Linked DNA regions of Homo sapiens: regions 1, 2 and 3 are each linked to region 4. Evidence: promoter capture Hi-C in human tissues and cell types (Jung and others, 2019). All regions are on one chromosome and are shown on one strand. The core of a region is centred on a gene start or on the middle of the fragment in contact, and the rest is flanking DNA. Distances in the headings are between cores, read along the strand shown. Region 1 overlaps GABRA5 (gamma-aminobutyric acid type A receptor subunit alpha5). Region 2 overlaps GABRG3 (gamma-aminobutyric acid type A receptor subunit gamma3). Region 3 overlaps GABRG3 (gamma-aminobutyric acid type A receptor subunit gamma3). Region 4 holds the start of GABRG3 (gamma-aminobutyric acid type A receptor subunit gamma3).

Evidence for each region. The method cuts DNA at HindIII sites, captures the fragments that hold promoters and counts their contacts. A contact is called where the count stands out against the background at its distance.
Region 1: a fragment that was not itself captured here is called in contact with the fragment with the promoter of GABRG3 in region 4 in 3 of the 25 tissues and cell types used here (dorsolateral prefrontal cortex, spleen and stomach).
Region 2: a contact is called between a fragment that was not itself captured here and the fragment with the promoter of GABRG3 in region 4, in 1 of the 25 tissues and cell types used here (dorsolateral prefrontal cortex).
Region 3: a contact is called between a fragment that was not itself captured here and the fragment with the promoter of GABRG3 in region 4, in 3 of the 25 tissues and cell types used here (dorsolateral prefrontal cortex, liver and spleen).

The regions. Positions count from the first base shown.
Region 1 is chr15:26,927,662-26,930,582 of GRCh38, forward strand. All of the region lies in intron 7 of GABRA5 (gamma-aminobutyric acid type A receptor subunit alpha5), which reads left to right. Among named protein-coding and RNA genes, the nearest start is that of GABRG3, 42 kb to the right of the region's middle. RefSeq lists an enhancer at 1,430-1,978. The HindIII fragment of the contact is 7,071 bases long and covers 1-2,921 here.
Region 2 is chr15:27,012,276-27,015,102 of GRCh38, forward strand. All of the region lies in intron 2 of GABRG3 (gamma-aminobutyric acid type A receptor subunit gamma3), which reads left to right. Among named protein-coding and RNA genes, the nearest start is that of GABRG3, 43 kb to the left of the region's middle. The HindIII fragment of the contact is 9,195 bases long and covers 1-2,827 here.
Region 3 is chr15:27,031,451-27,034,150 of GRCh38, forward strand. All of the region lies in intron 3 of GABRG3 (gamma-aminobutyric acid type A receptor subunit gamma3), which reads left to right. Among named protein-coding and RNA genes, the nearest start is that of GABRG3, 62 kb to the left of the region's middle. The HindIII fragment of the contact is 3,014 bases long and covers 1-2,700 here.
Region 4 is chr15:26,969,733-26,972,444 of GRCh38, forward strand. GABRG3 (gamma-aminobutyric acid type A receptor subunit gamma3) reads left to right here and starts at 1,449. Exons shown (of 10, transcript NM_033223.5): 1 at 1,449-1,856. The coding sequence starts at 1,804. The HindIII fragment of the contact is 15,270 bases long and covers 1-2,712 here.

The DNA.
Region 1 (2,921 bases), core at 394-2,893, 42 kb before region 4:
GTCTTTCATCTTTTAGATTTACTAAAAATAGATGCTTGGCCAACTTGTTCACTTATACCATTGGCATCTGAGCATGCAGAGGCTAAATGTGATAGTATAATGAGTTTCAAATTACTCAATTCAACAGTTCTCTGCTATTAGGAGACAAAGGAATGCAATATGTGTCATTATTCTAATGAGCCACATGCTCTAGTTTCTCTAATGCAGAACTGAATTAACAGACATTTCTGTTATTGGTATCTCTACTCTTAAGAATTCCATCAAATCTTGAAATTAGTCTCAGCTTACAAAAGGATGTTTCTCGGTCCATAAGGAAATTCCTTAAAAATAATGGCATGGTGTCCATTCGGAAGCAAATACTTAAACACAACAAGACTATTTAGGAAAAAAATATATTTAGATTATGTCATTCATTTTATTTGTGGAGTGATTCATTAAATATTAAGCCATGAGATGACATCTGGATTCACGAAAATATGTACTAAATTAGAACTGGAAGCTTCTTTGGTAGTCATCCAGTAGAGAGAATTTCAGGAAATGAGGGGTGAATTTCACCGGAGTGAGCTACTATTCCATTCAGACACATGAATTATGCCTGCTGTTGCATTCATCATCCCCAGCTTCTAGTGACTCAGGATGAGCGTGGATGATCTAGAACACAGGTTTCTGAGTGCCTCGTGTGAACATGTTACAGTCTCGACAGTTGTAGAAACATACTGAAGTTTTAACTGTGCGGTGTCTGAATTTAGATTGTTTCAACAATCACGTTGATGCGTTAGTTACCCTTGGTTGTCACTGGAATCTGAATGTTTGTTTCCTCCCCAAATCATGTGTTGAAACCCAATCCCCAGTGTATTAAGAAGTGGGGCCCTTACGAGGTGATTAGGACGTGAGGGTGGGGGGTCCTCCTGCGTGGGATTAGTGCTCCTATAAAAGAGGTCCCAGAGAGCTCTCCCGTCCCTTCTGCCATGTGAGGACAATGAGAAGGCACCCAAGCAGACTAAAACAATTACCATCTAAGAGATACTCTGAGTGTTGCTTTAGTCTGGTTTGGCTGTTATAACAGAATACCACAAACTGAGGGACTTAAAAACACCAGAAACTTATTTCTCACAGTTCTGGAGGCTGGAAAGTTTTGGATCAAGTTACCAACAGTTTCAGTGTCTGGTGAGGGCCTGCTTTCTGGTTAAGACAGCATCATCTCACTGTGCCCTCACACGATGGAAGGGGTGAGTGAATTCCCAGGGGCACCTTTTATAAGGGCATTAATCCCATTCATGAGGGCTCCATCCTCATAACATAATCACCTCCCAACGCCCCACCTGCTAATGCCATCATCTTGGGGCTGAGGATTTCAACATATGAATTTTGGGGGGGACACAGTTATTTAGTCTATCACATTCTTCCCCTGGACACCCAGCATTCATGCTCTTCTCACATGGTTTCAGTCCAAAAGTCTAAAGCCCAAAGTCTTAGCTGAATATCCTCTAAATCAGATATGGGTGAGACCCAAGGTATGATTTATCTTTGGGCAGAATTCTTTTCAAGCTGTGAAACTGTGACCAGACAAGTTGTGTGCTTCCAAAATACAATGGGGGCAGGCACAGGATAGACATTCCCATTCCAAAAGGAAGAAGTGAGAAGGAAGAAGGGAGTGAGAGGTGCAGAGAAAGTCCAGAACCGAGCGGGGCAAGTTCCATCAGACCTTAAAGCTTCAGATTAGCCCTCCTTGGCCCACGCTTTGCCCTGCAGACCCATGGGGAAAGAGTTCCATATCTTCCAGTCACACTGGGGCAGCAGCTGTGTCCCAGCAGTTTTGCCAGGCAGGGATTGGGCCGCATGACTTTGGGGATCCCCTGCCCCTGTAGCAGCTTATGCCTGTGCCCCACAGCTCTCTGGGACTGGGGTCCTAATGGCTGTGCTTGGAAGCCCAGTGCTTTGAAATCTAGGTGGAGGCCATTGTGCCCCCTCTGCTCTGTTGAGCGCAGCCCTCACCACACCAGGGCCCCCCAGAACCCCTGCTGGGGTGGCTGAGGAGTGTGGTGCTGGAGAGCAGGGAGCAGAGCCCAAGAGGTAAGGCAGTGCACATCAGGGCAGGGCAGGGCGCCTCTCCGTCCTGCAGGTACCAGCATCCCTCCTTTGCATTCTCCCATTGTCTTGCACAGCAGCTCTTGGCTTCTGTTGGGGTGGCTGACTAATGAATGTCTTTCTTAAATGGTCCTTTGGCCACACCCATCCCGGTATTCTCTCCCAAACAGGCTTTCTCATTCCTTTCAAAATAGATAGGTTGAACATTTCCCAAATCTTTAAATTCTGCTTCTTTCTTCTTCTTCTTCTTCTTCTTCTTTTTTTTTTTTTTTTGTTTTTTGTTTTTTGAGATGGAGTTTCACTCTTGTCACTCAGGATGGAGTGCAATGGCACGATCACTGCAACCTCCACCTCCCGGGTTCAAGCGATTCTCCTGCTTCAGCCTCCCGAGTAGCTGGGATTACAGGTGCCCGCCACTACGCCTGGCTAATTTTTGTATTTTTAGTAAAGACGGGGTTTCACCATATTGGCCAGGCTGGTCACAAACTCCTCAGGTGACCTGCCTGCCTCAGCCTCCCAAAGTGCTGGGATTACAGGTGTGAGCCACCATGCCCAGCCTGCTCCCTTCTTAACTAACAATTCCATCTTTAAGTCATTTCCCTCTCCTCCCATTTTACAATAAGCTATTAGAGAAACAGGTCACTTCAACACTTTGTTTAGCATATTTCCTTAGCCGATATTCAACTCCATTACTCCTAGTTCCACCTTCCACGAAAACTATGACTATAACACGAACATGGTTCAGTCAAGCTCCTTGCCACTTGGTAACAAGGATCACCTGTCTTCCAGTTTCCAATAACATGTTCCTCATTTTTTGTCTGAGACCTCATTGG
Region 2 (2,827 bases), core at 92-2,591, 42 kb after region 4:
TGATCTTAACTATTTTTGTTATTTATGCAATGTACCTTTTGTTGGGCTCATCTTAAGAATTGTTTCTTTATTAACTTTTCAGCAATTTGATAATGATGTGCCCAGGTATGGTTTTCATAATGTTCATCATTCTTGGAGTTTGATGAAGTGCTCAGATCTGTGATTTGATGTCTTTCATCACTTTTGGGAAATTCTTGACTATAATCTTTACAGATATATTTTAAAATCTCAATATCTTTTTGTGGGATGCATTATATATGTATTCTCTTTGTAATACATTAGATGTTACTGGGTTGTGTGCTTTTTCAAGGCTGTATTAACTCTATAGGAAGGAATGGATATGGGGAGTGAATCACCATATCCAAGGTAGACTCTTCTTTCCCACACCATAGTCAATCTTTATCTCAGTACCTGGTTTTATTCCTTTCATAGTACTCATAACTATAAAAAACAGCTGGTTTATTGATTAGTTTACTTGTTTAATCTCCGTTTCACGCACTGTGATTTAAATGCTAAGAAAGTGGAGACTTTGTGTCTTGATTATGCTCTGTCCTCAGACATTAGAACTCTGTCTAGCTCACCAGTCATCCACTAATTATTTGTAGAATGAATAGTGGTAAGCAGAAAGGCAAAAACAAGATTTACTTACCACTTACACTAGAAGGGAGGCTGTTAAAAGGTACGTATTAATAAAACCCTTCAAACAGTTTATAATACTGGAAATGTTTGAACTGTAAGAATAGATTGGAAGGTGAAAGAAATTTGAAATAATTCAGTGAAAAATAAAATATTTTGTAGTAGTTAGGCTTATCAGCTGTAATGGAATCATAGGACTTCACATCTGGATTTCTAACTACTTTAAGATACTTCATATGAGTGGAATCTTAACATATTCGTCCTTTTATACTTGGCTTATTTCACTTAACATGATGTCCTCAAAGTTCATCCACCTAGTAGAACATGACAGGATTTCTTTGTTTTTCAAGGCTGAACAATATTGTATGTATATGCCACATATTCTTTTTTCATTCACCTGTTGATTGACATTTCTGTTCCTTCTACGTCTTGGCTATTGTGATGTGCAGGAGTTTTTAAGTTTAATGTAGTCCATTTGTCTATTTTTGCTTCTGTTTCCTGAGCTTTTACTGTCATATCCAAGAAATTATTACCAAATTCAATATAATGATCTTTTCCAATGTTTTCTCATAGACATTTTATAGTTTTTGGTCTCATATTTAGGCTTTTGATCCATTTTGAGTTGAATTTTTTATATGATATATAGTAAGAGTGCTAACCTCATTCTTTTGCATATGGAGATACAATTGTCCCTGCATCATTTATAGAGACTGTCCTTTTCTCATTTTGTAGTCTTGGCATCATTGTTGAAATTCATTTGGCTACTTTATGCAAGGATTTAACTATGGGCTCTCTATTCTGTTCCATTGGTCTCTATATCTGTCTTTATACCAGTATCATGCTGTTTGATTTTGTAGTAAGTTTTTGAAATAGGAAGTTTCAGACCTCCAACTTTCTTTTTTTTCCCCCAGGATTGTTTTGGCTATTTGGGGTCCCTTGAGACTCCATATAATTTTGGAATTGGCTTTTCTATTTCTGCCAAAAATGCAGTTGGCGTTTATATTGGAATTATATAGAATCTGTAGATTGCTTTGAATAGGACTGACATCTTAACAATATTAGGCCTTCCAATCTGTGAAAGCAAGATGTCTTTTTACTTACTGGTGTTTTCCTTAATTTCTACAAACAATGTTTTGTAGTTTTTGGTGTATAAGTCCTTTGCCTCTTTAGTACAATTGGCGTACAATTATTCATAATAGTCTCACAATTTTTCTTATTTTTGTGACATCAGTTGTAACATTCTTTCATTTTTAAGTATCGTTATTTGAGTCTTCTCTCATTTTTTTCTTAGTCTAGCTAAGGGTTTATACATTTCATTGATCTTTTCGAAGAATCAGCTCTTGGTTTTGTTGATTTTGTTTCTATTTTCTATTTCCTATTTCATTTATCTCTGTACAATTTGTATTATTTGCTTTCTTCAGCTACATTTCTTTATTTTTTTTTTTTTAGTTTTTTGAGGGTGTAAACTTAGATTGTTGATTTGAGGGTTTTCCTCCTTTTTTAATGTAAGTCTTTACTGCTATAAATTTCTTCCTTTGTACTGCTTTTGTTGTAGCCCATAAGTTTTGATATGTTGTGTTTTCTTTATTTGTCTCCATATATTTTCTAAGTTCCCTTGTGATTTCTCCTTCGACCCTTTGGTTGTTTAAGAGTAAATTATTCAATTTCCATATATTTGTGAATTTTCCTGTTTTGCTTTCCTGTTGATTTGTTTCATTCTATTGTACTTTGAGTGATTTAAATCTTAAATGTGGTAAAACTTGTTTTGTGGACTAACATGTCTTCTATCTTTGAGAATGTCTAGTTGCACTTGAGGAGAAGGTGTATTTTGCTGTTGTTGGGTGGAGTGTTCTGAATATGTCTGTTAGGTCCAGTTGGTTTGTAGTGTTGTTCAAGTCCTCTGTTTCTTTGCTTATCTTCTGTCTGGTTCTTTATATAACTGAAAGTGAGATATTGAAGTCTCCTACTATTATCGTGTTGCTGTCTAGTTGTCTCTTCAGCTCTGCCAATGTTTACCTTATAAAATTGGGAACTCTAACGTTAGGTGTATATATACTTATGGTTGTTATGTCTTTCTTGTGAATGGACCCTTTTATTACTGAATAACAATCTTCTTTGTGTCTTGCGACAGTTTTTGACTTAAAATCTCTTTTGTCCAATACAAATATAGTCACCCTTGCTTTCTTTAGGT
Region 3 (2,700 bases), core at 63-2,562, 62 kb after region 4:
CGTTTTAAAAAGTACTGATACCAATTCATCTGAGGAAATCTAAGACTTGTAGCGAGCCACTGTAATGTGACTATAGCGTGACCATGTGTTACCAGAAATTGATGGGATGGCTCTGTGGATTGTGGGACAGGTCCAACATCACCAAATTATACTATATGATAGATCACCTACACATTTAAAACTGAAAAGATGACATGCAGCCAGAGAAATCATAAAGAACACATGAGGCCTCTCAACCCTATCTCTGCTCCATTCCACTTGTGGCTGAAGCTTTAAGAAGTGAAGTCAGGATACCAAGTCCTGATTAGGGCCTGTGGAAGGTAAATTCCATTTGGTCATTACTGGAGGATGATCTATTGCTTTGTGGAACTCTTTTGGAGTCATCTAAGCTCAGGAAAGTTTAAAATAAGTGACAGCTGAAGCACCGTGGTGCTCCTGACCTTGTTTGGTTTTTCTTTGCATTTCTCCTGCGTAAAGTTCATAGCAGTTTTTGCATCTGTAGTTCGATAACTTTCAGCAGTGTTTGAAAAAGAGTGGCCATTATTTCTTAAATATTGTTTTGGCACCGTTCTAGGACTCTGCTCATGTGAAGGTTACATGCTTCTCCCAGGTCCCACTTGCTTTTATGCTTGTGCTGTTTTTTATTTCTTCCTTTGCACTCCATCTTTTGGCATATGAAGTCACTCTTCATCTCTGTTCTGTGATGTTTTAAAGCTGTCTATTGAGTTCTTGATTTCAGTTATTATGTTTTCAGTTCGAAAATTTTAATTTGATTCTTTCTAACGTATGTTAGTTCTCTGGTGCGATTCTCCATCTTGCAATCTGTTTTCTGGAACACATTAACCATGAAGTCCCTTCTGCCATCTCTGGTTCCATTTCTAATGTCTGTTTTCTTGCTTCTTTCTATTACTTGGTATGCCTGATGTATTAGTCTGTTTGTATTGCTGTAAAGGAATATCTGAGACTGGGTAATTTATAAAGAAAAGAGGTTTATTTGGTTCACAGTTCTGCTGGCTGTACAAGCGTGGCACCAGCATCTGCTTCTGATGAGAGCCTCAGGAAGCTTCCAATCATGGCAGAGGTGAAGGGGGAGCCAGCTTGTCAATGGTGAGAGGGAGCAAGAGAGAGAGGGAGGAGGTGCCAGCCTCTTTTAAACAACCAGATCTCTTGTGAACTAACAGTGAGAACTCACTCATTACCATGAGCACAGCACTAAGCCATTCATGAGGGATCCATGTCTATGATGCAAACACCTCCCACCAAACCCCACATCCAACAAGGGAATCACATTTTAACATGAGATTTGGAGGGGATGAAACATCTAAACCATATCACCTGGCAATTTTCATTGTGTACAAAGATTTGTAGAGGCATTGAGTGGTTTTTCCCTTGCCTCTCTGTAGGTCTGAGCTGGCATGGGGCTGACCTGCAGTCTTGCAGAGGCTCCACTGGACTCTGGTTCCCCTGCCTTTCTGCATCGTTCCCCAGAGGTCCCAACTGAGGGCCTGGAATGTGTCAACACCAAAAAATGGCTGAAAATACAGCCCTTCTTTTTAAGCCATTTTTACAATTGTTTTTTAACCTCTTATGTTGTACAACTTAGTCAGTAAATGTGTCGAGGAGATAACCAGTATTGGTTGGCTTTCTTCTCTGACATTCATATTCCCTGAAATTGTGGCCCCTCCTTTTTTGACTTCTTGGCCAGTTTTTCCCTCAAGCTCTCCCGGGTTCTTTATTCTCTCTGTCCAGGTTTTCACATTACGTGCCCTGTCAGCAGAAGACAAGTTCTCGGGGGAAGTGGCGTGCAGGAAATGTTTACCATGGTGAGCCTGCTGCCTCTGTTTTGGCTTCTTCAGATGGATTTTTGCTTAGCTTTCTCGCTTGCTCTTAGTGAGGGTGCCAGTCTACTGCAAGGTATCCCATCCTAGCCATGCATCCTTGATTTGGAAATTTAAGTTTAGGTGTAATAAGGATTGATTCTGGATAGCTAGCAAGGAAGTAAGTTGGAGCAGAGTCAAAGCAGATACAATCTGACTGGGAGATTTTTGTTGTTGCTTTGGTAACCTCCTGAACTGCCTTCAGGTTAGCGAATAAGAGGATTTTCTAGGGTCCATTGTTTTCAGGTTTTTTCTATAAAATAATGATGCTTTGAACGACACTAAAGGATACGAATTATGTATTTCTTTTAGCAATATTAGCTTTAGATGAAAAAAAGCATGTGGCCCTTTTCAGTTGTTTAAGAGGATGATGGTCTTATATGTGGTTTTAATATTATTTTATAAAATGAACAATATTTCATTTTCCACTTGAAAAATGAAAAAATTTTATTGCTGTCGTAGATTTTTTTGTGGTTTTATGCATTAATATAGTATATAGTAAATGTTCAAAAGGATTGTTTGTTGCTATTCTTGCTATTGTATTACAACCTGTAAATTTTGTGACACTTTCAGTTTTATGTCATCCGTGAATTCTCCCCTCAGTGTTCATGGCCTTTGGACCTGAGGAATTGGCATTACTGGCAAGCTTCTTAGAAATGCAGAGAATCATGCCAAACCCCAGATCTCCTTGAATCAGAATCTGCATTTTAACAGGATCTCCAGATCATTGTCATCCACCTTAAAATGTGAGGGATACCATCTAACTCACCATGACTTCTCCATATGAAAAGCATACACAACTTACCCTGTATGAAAACGTATA
Region 4 (2,712 bases), core at 199-2,698:
TCTTATGTGGAGACGACATAAGCAATGAAGGAACAATAAATCATCATCTAACTGATTTTTAAAGTGCTCAGATTTTGGTACAGAAAATTAGAGATTAGGGCAGAGTATGATAAAGGCTCATATTCCCCTGAAGCCTAAAGGAGTGGTACAGGTGTTGGAAGTGGAAGAATGCAGGAGCGTCAGAGTCTTCATCAAAGAGGGGACCTTATAGGGCATGTGCACCTAAGTAGGAGGGATGTGCTGGGCAGAGGAGGATGAGAATGCCAGAAAGAGTCCTGGAAAGGCGGGGAGCTGGGTGAGTTCAGCACCTCACAGAGACAGAAAGGTGATGCCAGGGAGATGACAGCTCCATTGTTGAAAAACAATATTGTCATTAACAACTGCACTCCCCTCCACTTCATGCCTATCCAGAAACAAGGGGGAACACACCAGAGGAATACAGGCCCATGCCACCATGCCCAGCTAATTCTTTACTATTTTTTGTAGAGACAGGGTTTTTGCACATTGCCTAGGCTGGTCTCGAACTCCTGGGGTCAAGTGATCCGCCTGCCTCGGACTCCCAAAGTGCCGGGGTTACCGGCTTGGGCCACTGTGCCTGGCCGAACAAAGCTATTTGACAATATTAAAGAAACAGTTATCACACCCTTACATAATTCTATGAATAGCAGTTATAAAACATTTTCTAAGAACTTTTTGGGGGTGATAGAAATGTAAAATTCCTAGTGGATTTACTACACTGTTGCGATTGCAATACTTACATGGTGCAAGACTAACTTTCTGAATGATTATGACAAATGAAAGCGTAAATGCCATTTTCGGTTTTTGGAATATGAAAATACATGGAATGAGGCGCACCTCATGCTTCCACCAAACGGAACGTCTTTGGCTTCTTGCCTTAGGATCTTTCTAGCTCCTACCTTTAACATGCCTTTCCACCTCTACTGTTTATTGCTATGTGTTAGTCTCTCTTTTCTGTAAGAAAGGCATAAATCTGGGGTGCTTTTTTCCCAAATATTCCCGCAGAAAGCCACCTTTCCAAGCACAGAATCTTATCAGTGCCTAGGAGTTCAGCCGACTTAGCACGAAGAGTGCGATGGAAGGGCTGCTTTTGGCAAACCGTCTCAACCCCGGGCGACGGCGGGCACGGGAGGTCAGGGAGCGCTGGAGGAAACCTGCACTGGGGTAGAAATGGCTGGAGGAAGGCGGACCGCGGGCTCGCTCTCATGGTGCCAACCCCGGGGACCTTTCTTCAGGCTCCCTGCGGGATCCCCAGCCTCCCCTCCCCCTCGGAGCTCCGCCCCCTTCCTGGCCTCAAACTCCGAGTCCATTCAAACCTCGCCTTCCTCGCCCTGCGCGTTGTCAGGCGTGTAATTGGGGAAACTCCTCCCCGCCGGGACCGCCTCGGAGGCGCTGCCAGGGGACAGCCGCCCAGCTGCCCCCACCTCCCAGCACAGCGCACACAGCCCCGGCCTGGGCACCCGCGCCCGCTCGCGGCTCCAGGCGGGGTGGGCGGCGCCGCGCCAGGGGGTCCCCGGCGCCCATTGCTCCCGCCGCCCGGTTGCGCGGACCGGCGCTAGTGCGCGGGTGGGGGCGGCGCGCCGCGGTGGCCCGGCGTCCCGTGTGCGTCCAGTGTGCGCCCCGCGGGGGCGCGGCCAGCGCCAGAGTAGATACCTGTCCCGCCCGCCGCGGCCAGCAGCCTCGGAGGAAGCCAGGGCAAAGAGGGCCGGCGGAGACCAGGTCCGCGCCGGAGGAAGCCGCGCCCGGCCGAGGCCCCGGACCCTGCGCCCCGAGCTCCACGGCACCATGGCCCCGAAGCTGCTGCTCCTCCTCTGCCTGTTCTCGGGCTTGCACGCGCGGTAAGTGGCGCGGGGGCCGCATCCCCGGAGGCCCCGAGCTGGGCGACAGGGCGGCGGGGGGCGCTGTCTGCTGGAGTCCCTGGCGCGCCAGCCGTCGGCTGGGCTGCGGCACGGCGGGCCGGGAGGGGACTGGGAAGTCGGTCTGCACCTCACCTGTCCCAGCTCCCTTGGACACGGTCATCTGCTTTTTCCTCTGCAGCCGGGAGTGTGGGGACTCAGATTAATGGGCTCGTCTCCTGACGCTTTTAGGATCTGGTGGTTTTAAGGGGTTTTGAGAACCAGGTTCAGGGGGCAGGGGCCATTTCTGGCTCCTTACCGACCCCTAATTCCCACCTCAGCTGTTTCAGGGGCTCACACACACACACACTTTGGCTGACATTCTCTGTCATTTCCATCACTCTGAAATTTCCAAGAACCCGGGAACCGTGGTTCTAACTGCCTAGTTTAGACCGGGCTGGAAAGAGCTAATGCATTGGAGGCAGGCGCGGGGGGATTGGAACCAGGTGGGCAGAAGAAAGCCCTGCTTGTCTGGGAGGACTCCCCTCCCAGGTCCTGCAAACACACACACACACCTTCCACATCAGCCACTTTCACACAGAGGAACACACGCACTCCCACCCCCATAAAGCACGCATGTCGAAATGGATAATAAGGCTTCTGCCTGGTAATGTAAGAAATCATCTCACCATAAATTCCGCAACCTTCCTCCCAGTACACCAACCGGCTAATGGGAGCTTAGAATCACTCTAGAAGAGATGAAGAGGGCGCATGAGGATACAAGGACAGTGGGACCCAAAGGGTTAAATCCTGTTGCTGTAAACACAACTGGAGATTCTGGGTTTAGTTTCTTTAATTC